6 separate regions of the Homo sapiens genome follow, and regions 1, 2, 3, 5 and 6 are each linked to region 4. Evidence: promoter capture Hi-C in human tissues and cell types (Jung and others, 2019). All regions are on one chromosome and are shown on one strand. The core of a region is centred on a gene start or on the middle of the fragment in contact, and the rest is flanking DNA. Distances in the headings are between cores, read along the strand shown. Region 1 holds the start of ZNF530 (zinc finger protein 530). Region 2 holds the start of ZNF550 (zinc finger protein 550). Region 3 holds the start of ZNF776 (zinc finger protein 776). Region 4 overlaps ZNF8-DT (ZNF8 divergent transcript). Region 5 holds the start of ZNF773 (zinc finger protein 773). Region 6 holds the start of ZNF549 (zinc finger protein 549).

The links. The method cuts DNA at HindIII sites, captures the fragments that hold promoters and counts their contacts. A contact is called where the count stands out against the background at its distance.
Region 1: the fragment with the promoter of ZNF530 here is called in contact with a fragment that was not itself captured in region 4 in 3 of the 25 tissues and cell types used here (adrenal gland, dorsolateral prefrontal cortex and spleen).
Region 2: the fragment with the promoter of ZNF550 here is called in contact with a fragment that was not itself captured in region 4 in 4 of the 25 tissues and cell types used here (dorsolateral prefrontal cortex, heart right ventricle, pancreas and 1 more).
Region 3: the fragment with the promoter of ZNF776 here is called in contact with a fragment that was not itself captured in region 4 in 1 of the 25 tissues and cell types used here (small bowel).
Region 5: a contact is called between the fragment with the promoter of ZNF773 here and a fragment that was not itself captured in region 4, in 2 of the 25 tissues and cell types used here (lymphoblastoid cells and spleen).
Region 6: the fragment with the promoter of ZNF549 here is called in contact with a fragment that was not itself captured in region 4 in 5 of the 25 tissues and cell types used here (IMR-90 fibroblasts, mesenchymal stem cells, pancreas and 2 more).

What each region holds. Positions count from the first base shown.
Region 1 is chr19:57,598,584-57,601,283 of GRCh38, forward strand. It overlaps ZNF530 (zinc finger protein 530), which reads left to right and starts at 1,302. Exons shown (of 4, transcript NM_001321981.2): 1 at 1,302-1,551; 2 at 2,145-2,196. RefSeq lists enhancers at 1,350-1,559, 1,650-1,769. The HindIII fragment of the contact is 9,316 bases long and covers 1-2,700 here.
Region 2 is chr19:57,558,424-57,561,123 of GRCh38, forward strand. ZNF550 (zinc finger protein 550) reads right to left here and starts at 1,440. Exons shown (of 4, transcript NM_001397372.1): 1 at 1,233-1,440. The coding sequence starts at 1,259. LOC124904781 (a long non-coding RNA gene) reads left to right here and starts at 1,519. Exons shown (of 2, transcript XR_007067357.1): 1 at 1,519-1,695. RefSeq lists enhancers at 482-561, 706-1,570, 1,012-1,061, 1,548-2,700, 1,692-1,801. The HindIII fragment of the contact is 8,093 bases long and covers 1-2,700 here.
Region 3 is chr19:57,745,537-57,748,236 of GRCh38, forward strand. ZNF776 (zinc finger protein 776) reads left to right here and starts at 1,279. Exons shown (of 3, transcript NM_173632.4): 1 at 1,279-1,555. The coding sequence starts at 1,523. RefSeq lists an enhancer at 1,291-1,340. The HindIII fragment of the contact is 15,716 bases long and covers 1-2,700 here.
Region 4 is chr19:58,269,391-58,272,090 of GRCh38, forward strand. All of the region lies in intron 1 of ZNF8-DT (ZNF8 divergent transcript), which reads right to left. It also overlaps a transcript of ZNF544 not described here. Among named protein-coding and RNA genes, the nearest start is that of ZNF8-DT, 8.0 kb to the right of the region's middle. The HindIII fragment of the contact is 7,344 bases long and covers 1-2,700 here.
Region 5 is chr19:57,498,490-57,501,189 of GRCh38, forward strand. It overlaps ZNF773 (zinc finger protein 773), which reads left to right and starts at 1,449. Exons shown (of 4, transcript NM_198542.3): 1 at 1,449-1,624. The coding sequence starts at 1,592. The HindIII fragment of the contact is 9,164 bases long and covers 1-2,700 here.
Region 6 is chr19:57,526,051-57,528,750 of GRCh38, forward strand. ZNF549 (zinc finger protein 549) reads left to right here and starts at 1,306. Exons shown (of 4, transcript NM_001199295.2): 1 at 1,306-1,556. The coding sequence starts at 1,524. The HindIII fragment of the contact is 19,998 bases long and covers 1-2,700 here.

The DNA of each region.
Region 1 (2,700 bases), core at 52-2,551, 670 kb before region 4:
GGCCAACATCCAATGCTTTGAGAGCCAAGATAGAACAAAAAGGCAGAGAAAGAGCAAGTTACTCTCTTCTTGCCCTGGATCATCCACCTTCTGTTTTCCAACATTAAAGTTCTTGGATCTTGGGCCTTTGGACTCTGGAACATACAAGAATGACCCTCACCCAGTTCTCAGGCCTTCAGCCTCCAACTGGGAATTTCACCATAGGCTCCCTTGGTTTTCAGGCCTTCAGATGCAGACTGAATGATACCACCCACCTTCGTGTCTTACCAGGTTGCAAAAGGTATATCCTGGGACTTCTTAGCCTCCATAACTGGATGAGCCAAGTCCCATAATAAATCCCCTCTTGTACATCTATGTATCCTATTGGTTCTGTGTTTCTCTGGAGAATCCTGACTAATACAATAGGTTTCAGTAATTTTCATTTCACAACTGTTTTTCTAAGATGATCTCAACTCCCCATGCAAGCACTGTCCCTGCAGTAACAGTATCAATGATCAAAATTTCCCATCAAAGAGATGAAAGCTAGGTGTCCCAAACCTTTATTCTGGTATTCTGATGTCCCCTTTGCACAAGTGCTCTGACTGTGAACACTACAGACACTGTTCTACTTTAAAATGGCATATGCTAAGTGGCTCTTCTGTTTAGAAAGTTGCTACAATCCTAAAAGAAGCATATCTAAGAATATGGAGGAAGAAATATTATATGAATACAACACTGTTCCTTACAGGGCTAGACACACTCACCGATTACACAGGCAGGAGAGGCATTTTCTGTGAGACAAAATTCCTCTTTCGTCCTCCAGCTTCGGTGCGATCTAACGGATGTTTTATCATTCCTGTCATGGCGCTATGTAAACTCTATTTCCCTTATTCCTTACTGAGCATAATGAAACTCACAAAGCTGACTCTAACGTTCTACTTTACATAAATGTGTGGAGAAAGAAGGTAATGTTTACTAGGCTCTCGCCAAGGGTAGAGGCATTTTGTATCTGAATAACTCTGACTACCTAGGTGACTAGTTGTACACAATACCCTCCAAAAATCTCTGTATGGTACCTTAAAAAAGCAGCGAAGCTCCTCCCTTGTCCAAGGAGGCTGGAGACACCACCTCTCAGCCTTCCCCTCCACCTTTCTCCATAGCAACGGGGTCATTCCTCCCTGAGGTCCAGGAGAAGGGCGACCTCTGCCAGCCCAAGAAGCGGTGAGAACTACATTACCCAGAGGCCCGTGAGCCAGGTTCTTGGCGTGGAGCCAATGAGGCTCAGGGGAGGGACATTTCCGCTCTGTCCAACTTGTCGGAGCGGAACTTCCGGCGTCCTCCCTGTGGCGGGCACTTTGGCTTGTGTCAGTTCCATCCGCGGGTGCCGGATCTGGACCTAGGTGCTGACAGCGAGAAGGCGCGAGGAGAGTCGTTTTCTCAGCTGCACAGCCGGGGCCTGACGGTCGCCGGCGGTGGTGACAGCTTTGCTCTTGTCTCCGCCCGGATCGTCCACCGCTCCCGGCCCGCTCCGCCCAGAGTCCGATGGCGGCGGCACTGAGGGCCCCGACCCAGGTGAGCGCTGCGTCCTCCCGGCCTCCTCTGCCCTCCCCACCCGAAACTGAGGGACGCGTGAAGGGTTTTCTGCAGCCCGGACCGCACTGTCCGGCACAGTGAGGCGCTGGTGCTGGATCTCGTTTCTGGTAGTGTGGCAGGGAGCGGGAGAGCGACACGGTCAGGGGGCTGCGCGGGCAACAGCTTGGAGCTGCGCCTGAGCCGGGAGGCTGGGGAGACCCAGGCCGGCCTCACGCGTGCAGGTAGCAGAGGGTGGGGCAGCGCCGCGCTGCATTGGCCCCACTGAGTTTCACCAGCACACTGAGGGCCACAGCGCGTAGGACAGAAGAGGGGCACGGCCCCAGTCACGCTTCTAAAAGTTTCACAAAAGCTGTTCAGAGGAACGCGCTGGAAGGGCAGTGATGATAGCAGGCATGGAGGGACCTAGTCTTTTTACGAGGTCACAAAGCTGGTAAAAGTCAGCACCAAGGACTGACACCCAGATACAAAGCAGTCATCCCTGGACACCTGGCTCTGGTGTTCCACATTGGAACCAGAAGTCCATGGAGCCACACTTTGGTCACCTGCCTCTCAGAACATGTTTCCTCCCACAGATTGCCACTAGTACTTACAGGTCCGTAAGAAGCACTTGAAGACCCTACAAGGGTAAGTGGAGGAAATCCAGAAGCTCATTGATTCCAGCAATGGGATCTCTAGGATTGGGACTGTGGTGACCTGGGATTCTTTACTTACCGCTTTTCCAGGCCTTGAGCCTAGGGACTCTGAACAAAAATATGTCCAGGGTGAGTATTATATGAGGTGGTGCCTGTTGCTGGCAAATAATAGGATGAATGTGGAAGTTTGTCCCAGAGATAAGTACAGGTGTTTGGAGCTGCTTGGAGGTGAGGCTGAGCTGGTTAAGAGAACCTCAAGTCTCATTTCCTTCTCATGGGAACAGAGAGCAGAGGTACAGGAGTTAGAAACTAAATGGCTGTCTCAGATGTCTTTGTTCTGGAGATGATGGCAGCAATGAAGATTTGGAGCAGAAGAGGGAGGTGATCTTCCCCAGGCCTCATGAGGCTCCTGTGGCTGAGCACAGACAACAGACTGTGGGTTTAAGGGAGTTGGTAGCAATACCAAAGAGGAAAGAGGAGACTACTGCAATAGTCC
Region 2 (2,700 bases), core at 190-2,689, 710 kb before region 4:
ATGAGAGTCCCTATAAGAGAGGCCTATTCAATCATCAACCATTTATTAAGTACAATAAATGTACTTAAGCCTGGCTGTTCTGGGTCTTGGGAGAGGGAAGCAACAGGCACTCACATTCCAGGGTTGGAAAAAGATCCTAAACAGGCAACTAAATAAATGAGTAAGGCAATGTCAGATGGCCTTAAAGATTCAGATGACAAGAAAACAGAGCAAGGAGACCAAAGAGACTCTGGTCAGCTTTAAACGGTGCAACAGACGAGACCTCTTTAAGCAGCGGACACCAGAGGGAGTCAGAAATAAAGCAAAGGAGGGAGAGGTGGATGAGAAATTAACAACTACGACAGGAGCTGACAGTAATCTGGGCTATCATGAAAGTAATCAGAGTGACTGCTAGAGAGTAACCCTGGGCCTCATGTGTTATCTCCAAAGGGACACTACATCCTGCATACCATCGCCACTGAACATTTTAATGGACTCGTTTTTCACCTGTAACTAAATGTCTTAAACAGGAAAATATACTGTTAGTTGCAACCCAGCGTCCCTTGCCCTAAACTGAAAGACAAATTCCTCAGCCTGCCCTACCACCTTTTCTGCCCTGGCATAGCAGCAACCGCAGAAACGCTCCTCCCACCTCTTTCAGCCGCTGCCCTTCGTGTTGTAGAGACAGGAGGCCAAGGAGGCCAGAGGGTCAGACTCCTGCTGGGGTTGAGTCTCCAAACCTAGCACAGGCCCAGGGAGCAGCTCCGGAAACAACATCCTGAGCGACGTCCCCGGACCGTGCTGTGCACTGAGACGGACACACACACATCACCCAGGGAGCCGTTCAAGCTTCCTCAACCCCGGGGGGGGGAAGAGTAAATATTTCTACTTTGCGCGCGCAAAAATGAAGGACGAGGACAGTAACGGGACTTGTTCAAGGTCGCAGGCCCGAGAAAGGACATGGTTGGAAGAGCCACGAGGAGGACTGCGGTCGCTCCTCTCACCTGTGAGGGGTTCCGGGACCCTAAAAGCCCTATTTCATACCACAACGCCGCGCACCCCAGAAACGGGGACGCTCCCCACGCCACCGCGGGCCTGCATTCCGGACCCGGGACCGCGCGACCCCCTTCTAGGCCTCTAAGAAGCAACGGCAGGGACTGCACTGAGGACGACCCTGAAACGCCGTCCTTCCGCTCGTCGGGCCCGGGACACTGAGGCCGGGTGGCCGCGGGGAGCCGAGCCAGTCTGCTCACCTGCGCTGCGTCCTTCGTCTCCGCCATCCGACCGTTGGCAGGACGAGGCCGCGTGGGGCAGCTCCCACGGGCTCAAAACCCTACCCCGGGTCCTACAACGGTGCGGAGGTGAGCCCCAGTCGCCCTACCATCCTTCCCAGCACAGTTCTGAGAGCGCGGACCAACACGCCCCACCACAAACGTCCACGCCAGCGAGGCCGGAAGTCCCGCCCCTGTGTCGCGGTCGCCTGCCACGCCTTTTCCTGCGCCGGCCCACTGCCTTCTAGGTAATGTAGTCTTGTCCCGTAAGAGGCCAGGCTTGGCTCTTTTTCCTTTTTTATTATGCACACCATGTTTCTGTATATCTCAGATGATCTTAGCGGAGCAAGTGTACACACTGGATTGTAAATTTTTAAAACTTCCTATTATTCGGATGCCTCAACGTCCCTACAAGCAGGCTGTGAGCACTCGCCCAGGCACCCAGGTAAACGAGTTTGATAAAGGGGGCCCTGCCACGAGGTTCCCCGCTTGCCTCCTCTGAGTGACCCAGTGACATTCCCATGTACCAGTAAAATCTTACGCCTGGTTACTGCGTCCTCCTCCACCCTGACGCCAGGCACTGTCCCTGGGACTGGCGTGGATCTGGACCCCCGCTTCCCGCGTGGAGCCATTCCCGGGACATGCTCGTGGGGTTCCGTCTGTGGGACGTCTGCCTCCTCTGTGTGGACTGGTGTTGCCCAGGGCTCAGGAAGGTCTCCAGGGGCCGTGAGTCCCCGCCCGCTTCCGGAGTCCAGCTTCGTGACACCATCGTGAGAAAGAATGCAGGGATGAGTCAAAATGAAGCCAAAGGCAAGAAGCTTTTATTGGGAAGAAAAAGTACACATTTTTGAGAAGAGTGTACTTTTCCCAAGAGAAGAGGGAAATGCGGACGTACGAGGGAGAGCGGGTCATGCACAATGGAGTTTGGGTTTCTAATTTTATGGGCTCTTCTAATTAGGGGGTGGGATAATCATGAGGTTTTTCTAGGAAAAGGTGGGAATTTCTTAGAATTGGGGTGCCAACCATTTTTATACTAAATGTGGGCGTGCTTGGATTGGCCTGGCACTGGTGGGTGTGTGATTTAATGTGGCAATGAGTGTATAATTAGGTCTGGGGTAGGAAATGGGTCAAATCTAGCGTCATGGGACAGCCTAGCCCCAATCCTGTTTGTTAAGGTCTCATCAGCCCAGTCTTCTTGTTGGAGTAGCTAATTTTAACAGCTTGATGTTTTCCCCCTTCTCCTGTGACCACACAGCATTCCTATTTTGTGGGTGTTTCTTTAATTAGAGAGTGGAATAATTATTAGGTATTCTGGAAAAGGAGGGAAATTCAGGGACCCACCTGGTTACTGCCCCCTTTCTCTCTTATTTGGCTTTGCCCAGAAGAGTCATGGACATGTCATCCTGACTGGGATTTTGGCCATTCTTTCTCTTATTTTGGGTTTTCTGTT
Region 3 (2,700 bases), core at 29-2,528, 520 kb before region 4:
TAAAAATACAAAATTAGCCAGGTATGGTGGCTCATGCCTGTAATCCCATCCATAACATTAATTTATTAGGCAAAACACTCCTTGCCATGGAAACAGAAATAAAGAATAGTCACAAAAAAAAAAAAAGAAAAGAAATAAATAAAGTCTGTTTTATCTAATACAAAAAAAAAAAAATAGCCACTTCCCAGCAATAACATGAACTCCTGGATTTAAGACACAACCAATATCAACAGGTGGAGAGCATCTTCTGCATACGTGCCCCACCTTTGAAAACTGCAGCCATTTATCACTACCAAAATAGCATTTCTTTCATTGGTCTTCCTGTAAGATTGATAAATCTTAGATAAATTAATCCAGAATTAATTGAATATAAGTTGGAATCTCAAGCGAGGGATACTAAGTGGATAAAAGTGTTGCTCAATGTACTGGACACTATGATTGATTTTATAGGCAGGAGAGTTGTCTTCTGTGGGAATCACAGACAGAGATTCAGCATGTATTCCTGCTTTAGGGAACACAACATTTCTCCTCTATCTTCCTTGTCTTGTCCTATCTGGATTAGTTCTCTCTTGTCCCTGACAGACTGAGAAACTGACTCTAATGCCTCAGAGTGCATTCATGTGAATTTATAACACAATAATGTTTATCAGCCTCTGCTGCCAGTACCGGGATTTTGCGACTGAAAGACTGTTCAAAACGTTATGATAATTTGGATTTTTAGTCTTTGGGGGCATCCTAAATAATAAGTTTAGCATCGGAGAGCTCGAGTTCCCCAAAATCTAAAATAATATTTTTTCAAATACTTGAGTGATCAGTTACAGACACTAATCTCCAAAAATCTCAATACGGGTTCTAAGGCTAGGTGAGACTATCCTCTACCCTAGAAGGACATGCACTTTAAGGACAGGCCGCTGAGATGGAGCTGGGCCTTTCCTGCAAGTAAGTGAACGTGATGGTAGGGTATACCTGACAGCATAGTTTGACAGGGGATATAGACTTTCAAGGAGAAAATAGACATGAAATAGATACATGCAGAAGTATAGTCAAATTGAGGGAAGATGACACTTAGGCCAGAGTAGTGTTTATTCACCACTCTGTGCAATCAAGCGCCTCTGAGAAGGCCTTCTTTACCGCCTTGGAACTGTCTTGGAACCTGAGGAAACTACATAACCCAGAAATCTCTGCGTCGAATGACAGCGCGTCAGAGCCAATGAGGGCTCAAAATAAAGGCGTTTCCGCGGAAACAGTATAAAGGTGGGACTTCCGGCGTCCTCTACTAGTGGCCATTTTGATTGGTGTTGGGTGTATTTTCCAGTGAGAGACCGCGGAGTGTTGGGTCGTGTAGAAGTGACTGAACCCAGAAGGTGGAGACGAGACGTTGTCCCGACTGCACAGAGGCTGCTCTGCAGCTCCTTAAAGGCGCTAGGCGTGACCCGCACCAAGGCCGGGATCGGGACCACCGTGCCCGGGTACCTGCACTGCTCGCCCCCTCCTTTCGACCCCGCTTTCCCCACCCAGTCGGATGGCGGCGGCCGCGCTGAGGCCCCCGGCTCAGGTAATTGTGGCGTCTTCCGTGCCCTCAGGTCACCTCATCTTTACCTAAGTCCAAAAGCAGAGAGGAAGCGGCGCCTGCTCAAGGTTTTACACCCTGAACCCGGCGTCGGGACACTGAGGCGCTCTCTATGGGCCCCCGTTTTTGACACCCGCGGGATGCGCTCAGGAGAGCTACAGGCACAGGGAGCGGTGCAGGCAAAGGCCTGGAGATGAACTGAGCCGAGAGGATCGTAACCTAGGGTCCACAGGCACCTGTCGGGAGCAAAGTGTGAGGCAGAGCTCCTCCTGGAAGAGCAGGCTGAGGACCGTGTATTCACCCTGAGAACGCTGGAAGCCATGGACAGCTTCCAACAAAGGAAGGAAAAGATCAATGTCCAGGCTTTAAAGGTTTCCCAAAGTCCAGTCGAAAAAGAACACAGGGGATGACTTTTGGGCCCTGGGAGGTTGAATTCTTGTTCAACCTCTACAGATCAGATAGGTGCTAAGAGATGACATTTTGTACTGAGGCGCTCAGTTCAGACAACCAACTCGCGTTTACCTAGTTACAGGGCCAAGAAAGAGTTCAGGGAGGCCTGAGCTTATCAAATCTCATCAGGGATACATTCTTGTAGCTTGTGCCTCTCCTCTCAGGAACTCCTGGCTGCAGAAGCACTTGCAGAACCTCCGCAGGGAAGCGGAGGGTGTTATTCCCTCACTGGCCCTAACTCCTATCCACATGCTCTTTAGATTGGGATGTCCTGGGATTCTTAGGTACCTTTTTTTTTTTTTTTTTAAGTTTTTTGATATGGGAACCCTGGAGGAACCTTAAACCCAGGATCCAAAGTCTGTGACACAGGATATATGGAGGTATTCCCATTTCTGTCAACCAGTATAAACATACTTGGAAGGTTAACCCAGGAGTTAGTACCAGGATGTGAAATGCTTAGAGGTGAAACTGACCAGAGGGAGGAGGTGATGTTGCCACAGTTTCATCTGGCTGTAGTCTCCTCTGGCTGTACAGTGGAGAACAGACTGTGGGGTTGAGAGAGGAGGAAATAAGATGAGAGTTGAGGCTTTTGCCGTAATCCAAGTGAGGGTTAACAGACTAAGATTCATGGCTAAGGAGATGTGGCTGGATTCAAAGTTGATATTTTGTTACAGCATCTA
Region 4 (2,700 bases), core at 4-2,503:
TGCCACTGCACTCCAGCCTTGGGCGACAAAGCGAGACTCTGTCTCAAAAAAAAACAAACAAAAAAAATGTCAGGGTCGGGCATGGTGGCTCACACCTGTAATCCCAGCTACTTGGGAGGCTGAGGTAGGAGAATTGCTTGAACCCAGGAGGTGGAGGTTGCAGTGAGCTAAGATTGTGCCACTGCACTCCAGCGTGGGCGACAAAGCGAGACTCTGTCTCAAAAAAAAAAAAAAAAAAAAAGATGGCAGGGCTGGCATGGTGGCTCACGCCTGTAATCCCAGCACTTTGGGAGACCGAGGCAGGTGGATCACTCTAGGTTAGGAGTTTGAGACCAGCCTGGCCAAGATGGTGAAACCCTGTCTCTACTAAAGATACAAAAATTAGCCAAGTGTGGTGATAAATGCCTGCAATCCCAGCTACTCAGGAGGCTGACGCAGGAGTATCACTTGAACCTGGGAGGCAGAGGTTGCAATGAGTCTAGATCATGCCACTGGACTCCAGCCTGGGCGACAGAATGAGACTCTGTCTCAAAACAGAGCAAATGGCATGGCAGAACCTTCTCTAGAGAAAATAGTTTTGAATCTAAGAAAGGAATAGCTTTAATCTAGAAAAGGAATAGGGCAAGAAAAGGAATGTTTATTCACCCATAACTTAAAAAAAAAGGTAATTTTAATTGAAGGCTTCAAGGTAAATTGTGCTCAAACTATACAAATTCTGCTAGATGGTTATAGTTCCTATGTGAAGGTAACTTTAGAAAGTAGTGTTCACTTGACACTGATGTGAGTAATTCTTGCTGGAGGGGGCAAAAAGCTCATGAAATTTGAATAAAGGAGGAGGAGATGCAGTCAGATTGTTGATTGACCCTTCAGGGAATGGCATTTGCATAGCTGTGACGTGAACCCTAGGTATTGGCTTTTTTTTTCTTTTTTTTTGAGAAGGAGTCTCTGTTGCCCAGTCTGGAGTGCAGTGGCGCGATCTTGGCTCACTGTAACCTCCGCCTCCCGGGTTCAAGCAATTCTCCTGCCTCAGCCTCCTGAGTAGCTGGGATTACAGGCACGTGCCACCACGCCCAGCTAATTTTTGTATTTTTAGTAGACACAGGGTTTCACCATGTTGGTCAGGATGGTCTCCAACTCCTCACCTTGTGATCCGCCCACCTTGGCATCCCAAAGTGCTGGGATTACAGGGATGAGCCATTGCACCCGGCCTGTATTGGCTTTTAATTTTTAGGAAGTAACACATGGCTGTGACCTGACAACTTCATAGTGGCCGTAGGGTAGGGCACTGTTGTCATTATTCCTGTCACTGACAATGTCAGCCCCACCTGCAGATGTGGGAGAGTAGATGGGGAAAGTAGTAGTGGAGAGTAGAGGTTTCCCTTACCATCCTTTTAGGAAGTAGGCTTTTAAACATGATATGTAAGTTTATTTAGAAGATGAAAATTAAAGCTTGAAATGTAATATGAGAGGAATTGGCAGCGGATGTGAGTCAGATCCTCACCTGTCAGAGCAGGAAGTTAGTGAAAACTAAAGATGATTGGCTGGATGCGGTGGCTTATGCCTGTAATCCCAGCACTTTGGGAGGCTGAGGTGGGTGGATCACCTGAGGTCAGGAGTTTGAGACCAGCCTGGCCAACATGGTGAAACTCTGTCTCTACTAAAAATACAAAGATTAGCCCAGCGTGGTGGTGGGCACCTGTAATCCCAGCTACTCAGGAGGCTGAGGCAGGAGAATCGTTTGAACCCAGGAAGTGGAGGTTGCAGTGAGCTGAGATTGCATCACTGTGCTCCAGCCTGGGCAACAGAGTCAGACTCCGTCTCCAGGAAAAAAAAAAAAAAAAAGACTAAAGATGATCAAAGATTAGAATTACGGAGGTGTCCTCAAGAAGAATTGGAACAGATATGGTTAAAAGTGGCTGGAGGTGGGTGCAGTGGATATGGTGGTGCACACCTGTAATCCCAGTGCTTTGGGAGGCTGAGGCAGGTGGATCACTTGAGCCTAAGAGTTGGAGACCAGCCTGGGCAACATGGCGAGACCTGGTCTCTACAAAAAATACAAAAATTAGCCGGGCATAGTAGCACATACCTGAAGTCCCAGCTACTCAGGAAGCTGAGTTGGGAGGATTCTTTGACCCCAGGAGGTTGAGGCTGCAGTTAGCTGTTATTATATCACTGCACTCCAGCCTATGTGACAGTGTGAGACCCTATCTCAAAAAAAAAGTGATGTCGGGAGGCTGAGAGGATGAGTGACTGGGGCAGGAGATGAGTACTTTCCCTTTTAAGCCCATAGCATTTAATTCCCTGGTGGTTCACTTCTTATTTGGATAACTAACAAATTATTTCAAATGTGTGCCTATAGGTGAGAGAAGCAATGGTACATGAGGAGGTAAGCATTTGATTTGTGGGATTATGAACAACTGTCCTACTCTCCTTTTGATTCGGTGTCTCTGTATTAGTGATCTGACAATTTAAAAAATCAAGCAAGAGCAGGCTGGGCGCAGTGGCTCATGCCTGTAATCCCAGCACTTTGGGAGGCCGAGGCGGGCGGATCACTTGAGGTCAGGAGTTGAAGACCAGCCTGGCCGACATGGTGAAACCCTGTCCCCACTAAAAATGCAAAAATTATCTGGGCGTGGTGGTGGGTGCCTGTAATGCCAGCTACTTGGGAGGCTGAGCAGGAGAATCGCTGGAACCCGGGAG
Region 5 (2,700 bases), core at 199-2,698, 770 kb before region 4:
CTCACTGCAAGCTCCACCTCCCGGGTTCATGCCATTCTCCCGTCTCAGCCTCCCGAGTAGCTGGGACTACAGGCACCTGCTACCACACCCGGCTAATTTTTTGTATTTTTTAGTACAGACGGGGTTTCACCGTGTTAGCCAGGATAGTCTCGATCTCCTGACCTTGTGATCCACCCGCCTTGGCCTCCCAAAGTGCTGGGATTACAGGCGTAAGCCACCACCTCCCTACTCTTTCTACCCAATAAATATGAAGGTCTGTGGAAGCTCAGGGCCCTTCCTCACTAGAAGCAAGAAGCCCCCTGACCCCTTCTTTAAAACAGATTTATTTTGCCTTTGTTTTCATTTCTGCATTCGTTCCCCTTCGTTCAGTCCCATAGTAACTGTGACAGGAATATGGAGCAGAAATGGATGAAGGGGAGAAATTGAGGGGGAGTTGGCTTATGGGTTTGCTGCCTGTTGTTGTGCCTTTACACCAATGTTGGGTCCTTGAGGAAGGAAAGAACACAAATGAGAATGGGGTGAAAGAGGAACGTAAATCCTTGGGCTCCCCTACTCTCTCATCACCTACATCCAGAATTCAGAGCCTTTTCTTATTATCATACATCAGGCATTAATATTGGGTGTCCCCTTGCCAAAGGAAATTTAGGAAGGTATACGTGGCTTTGCCCAGTGAAACCTCTTTATGGTGGCCCTGAAGATCCTCTTCAAGTCCTTCAAAAGAAGGAAAGATTGGAGTATCAGCTGCAGGAAACTGAAATCCAGGCCCATCTCCAATTACAACAGGTTCCAGATGAGTCCGAGAGTTCTCGACACTCATTTCTCCTCCATCTCCTACTCCATCATCTCCATCTCCATCTTCTCCATCATCTCCATCTTCATCATCATCTCCATCTCCATCATCTCCATGTCCATCATCATCTCTATCTCCATCATCTCCATCTCCATCATCTCCATCTCCATCATCATCTCTATCTCCATCATCATCTCTATCTCCATCATCTCCATCTCCATCATCTCCATCATCTCCATCTCCATCTCCTACTCCATCATCTCCATCTCCATCTTCTCCATCATCTCCATCTTCTCCATCATCTCCATCTTCTCCATCATCTCCATCTTCATCATCTCCATTTCCATCATCTCCATCTCCATCATCATCTCTATCTCCATCATCTCCATCTCCATCATCTCCATCATCTCCATCTCCATCTCCATCTCCATCATCTACCGTCTCCAATCTCCATCTCCGAAGTTATGCCCACTTCCTCGAAGTTTGGAGCCACGCGAACTACACTGCCCAGAAGGCGCCGCGCCGTGAGCCGCGATGCTTGGCCAATGAAAAGAGGTCTACCCGAGAGTGCGACGCGCAATGGGCGGGACTTCCGGCGTCTCCCCTCGGCGGTTGCTTTCGCTGCCCTCAAGAGAACTCAGCTTGCCGGAAGCTGGTTGTTCGCTGCGGCGACCAGCTCCGGAAAGCGCGGTGGGGACGCGCTGTGTTCTCGCAGCTCAGAGGCGGGTCTGAGGCTCGGTGGCGGCGCCCAGGGTGGCCCGGGCCCTTTCCTCGGTCGTTGTCTCACCGCCACAGGCTCCGATGGCGGCGGCCACGCTGAGGGACCCCGCTCAGGTGAGCGCCGCGTCCTCCCGGCCTCCCCCGAATCCTAAAGCCCTGTGAGGGCCGCCTGCTCAGGTCCCCGGGTGCAGAACTGTGGGGCGTTCGTGGGCGGCGTCCCGTTTCTGACACGCAGTGTGATGGGGTGGCAATGGAGGGCAAGGGGCCCGGCTCGCAAAGATGTGAGGCGCATTCAGCGAGTCCCGAACCTGAGGCCTCCTGGTGTCTGTAGTGGGCAGCTTGGGAAGGGACGAGGCGCGTGTCGAGCGACAGCCCGAGCAGCTGCGCTTTCATCCTGAGGGGGCCACAGTGGCCGCGGAGGGCTGGAGACAGAAGAGTGACAAGATCTGTTTCTCAAAGTTTGCCAAAGGCCCTTCAAGTCAAAACAGACTGGGGTGGGGGTGAGGCGGGTGAAGACAGACCTGTGAGTAGGTAAATTCAGTAGACTAGTGGAGAGTCTACTGGGACTGGGCCACAGAGGAGGGGAAGTGATCAGATCTTGGATGGATTTCAAAAACTGAACAGACGGGAATTCCTGTTGCATCAGATGTGACTGTGAAAGAAAGTAGGGAATGAAGAGCCATTCTGGATTTTTATTTGTATTTTTGTTTGTTCCTGAATATCAGGAAGGATGGAGATGGGTAAGGCTGTGCAGGGAATAGGTTTTGGGCATGGTGATCCTGAGATGTCCCAGAGTGGAGGTGTCATGTCCACATGAGCAGCTGGAAGGCCTGGGGCTCGTATTTAGGAGGGAGAATCTTAAAGTTTTCTTTCAGATGGTCCCTGAGGTGAGGGAAGGGAGAGATGGGCCTGTAGGATGGGGCAGCCTCTACAGCCTGGAGTTTCGTGGTCCGAAGTGATTTTGTCTGGTGCCTGCAGGAATGGAGGGTTATAGAGTATGAACACCCAGGACTGGATGGAGACCGCAGTGTTGGGTAGTATATAGGTTTGCCACTCCAGGCTTAGTAGTTCCTCATGTCCAGTCCATATGGAGAAAAGGAAAGGTCAGCCAGGCTGGTGGAGCAGCACCTTTGGTGCCTAAGTTTCCCTAGCTATCAGCACAGGTGGGATGATCAACTGCTCCAGTAGAA
Region 6 (2,700 bases), core at 56-2,555, 740 kb before region 4:
AGAGTGTGGCATTTCTCTATAACTCGCTCGGTTACAACACTATAGCCAAAGATTACATTCATAAAGATATTTTTACAATATAGGTGTCTTATTTAATATGACTCCAATCTAAATGGTAATTTTTCTAACCTTTCTTAAGTAATTATAAAATGTCAAAATTATAAACAATTAAAAACTAAAGAGAAATGAAGACAATGGATAGCAACAAAAGCTAATTGCTAAATATGGGGGAAAAAAGCCAGGCATGGTGGCTCATGCTTGTAATCCCAGCACTTTAAGGCAGGCGAATCACTTGAGGCCGGTTCTAGACCAGCCTGGCCAACATGGTGAAACCCTGTCTCTACTAAAAATACAAAAATTATCCGGGGGTGGTGGCGCATGCCTGTAGTCCCGGCTACTCGGGAGGCTGAGGCAGGAGAATCGCTTGAACCTGGGAGGTGGAGGTTACAGTGAGCAGAGATTGCACCACTGTACTCCAGTCTGGGCGACAGAGTGAGACTCTGTCAAAAAAAAAAAAGGAAAAAAAGAAAAGAAAAAGAAGATATAATGTTTCTGCAATCTCATTTCAGTTCCACTTATGATAATAGATACATTATGTAATTTAAGTCACTAACACTTGAGGGCAAAAAAACAGAATAAACACAAACGTGTGGGATAAGGGGATGCTGACCCCACTGTTAGTGATCACCTTGGTTGGAGACCCAGGTTTTATCATACAGATGAAGCCTGCAGGTAGCAAGTTTCAGAGAAATAGATTGTAAATGTTTCTTATCAGACTTAAGGTCTATGCTGATGTTATTGCTGTAGGGGTAGAATGAGGCATGTCCAACCCCTTCTTCCATAATGGCCTGAACTAGATTTTCAGGTTAACTCTATAATGCTGAGAGGAGGGGGTCCATTCAGATAGTTGGGAGGCCTTTGAATTTTATTTTTGGTTATAGTTTCTACATTAAAAAAAAGAAAAAAATTAAGGGTCGCGTCAATTCTCAATTGTCAACATTTTTAATGTATTGTATGCAATATATGTCAACTTTTGTGTTGAGAAATGAAGATCAAATCGTATTCTTTTATCCTGTGTATGTAATAGGCTTTGCTGACCCTAGTTTGATGGGTTTTTTCCTTTGTCCTCTCTTTCTTGGATTGAGTCCTCACAGCGCGGCGGACTGCGGCGTGGTAGGAACTACACCACCCAGAATACTGTGCGCCGAGCGTGCCGGGGCCTTAGACCAATCATTGCCCAGGAAAGGGGCACCTCCGTAAGTGCGCAATACGCCAGAATCTTCCGGCGTCTTTCCGGTGGTGGTCGTTTTTGCTGCCTGCGAGCGCGTCCGCGGGCTGGGCGTTTCCGGCTCGCTGGGTCCGGGCCAGGTAACTGGAGCCGGAAACCGGTGGAGGTGGTGTCCGCCCGCAGAGGAGCTTGCCTGGTCTCGGTCTGAGCGTCGCCCAGCGATTTGCCACCGCACGCACGCCGGATCCCGGGCTTTACCGCCCGCCTTTCCAGGCCCCGCCCCGCCTAAAGTCCCATGGCCGAGGCAGCGCTAGTGATTACGCCGCAGGTGAGAGCGGAGTCCTCGGATCCTCACCTGGGTCCTGAGGCCCCGGACTGGGGTCACCTGCGTGGGTCTCTGCAGTTCAGGCCTCTTCTCCAGGACAGCGAGGAGTTCTGGGTGGGGTCCTCAGAGCTGACGGGCGGTGAGGTGAAGAAGGGAGAGCGTTGCGTACCGTGGGGGCTGCACGCGCAGAGCCTGGGAGGTGCGCCGGGGTCGCGAGCATTCGGAAACTTGGGGGCGGACCTGTGTCTGCAGGGAGCAGAGAGAATGAGGAGAAGAAGGCACGGCTGCCATGGCAGCCTGAGCAACCGGGGTTTTTAATTCTGAGTCTTTGGGAGCCATGGAGGGTTGTGAACTAAAGGAGAACACGATCTGAGTGAGGGTCTGAAAAAATATTTCAAAGGCAATGAGTGGAGAAAACAGACTGTTACGGAGTGATGGGGGTGGACGCAGGGATACTGGTGAGGAGACTGCTGTAGTAGGCTCCAGGAGGATTATGGTGGATTCTGGACCAGACGGGTTGCTGAAGGGACCTAAGTAATAAGAATCTTGGTAGATCTTAAAGGTAAAGCCAGCAGGATTTTCTGCTCCATCATTTGTGCCTATGAGCAAAAGTGGGAGTGAAGTATGATCCCAAGTTTTTCTTTTACCTGAACATCTGGAAGAGTTGACAAAGAAATCTGGTGAGGGAGCAGGTTTCAGGGAAATAGTAGGAGTTGAATTTTGGACGTGGTGTTTCTAAATTGCCACAGAGTGAAGTTGTTACATGGGCAGTTGGAATCATAAGTAGAAAATTCATGGGAGGGGACTGACTCAGTGATGTGTAAATGGAGACAGGCTGGGGCGTAGACTCAAGCCAAGCCTTAAATTTAGACGGGAAATCTTAAGGTTTTACTTTGAGATGAAGAGAGGGAGGGCTGAGGCTGGAGGCTGGGAAAGTGTGGGTCGGCCTTGGCGAAGCTGCCTGCAGATAGGAGGGCCATGGGGTTCCGGGGGTACTTCCAAAGGGAATGTGTAAGGAATACACACTGCATAGGATGGATTTGAGGGTGGGACACTGTGTAGAGTCACCATTCAGAAGACTTGGCGAACTGTTCACTCTATGTGGAGCCAGAGAAAGGTCAGCCAGACTAGCAGAGAAGCCCAAGCC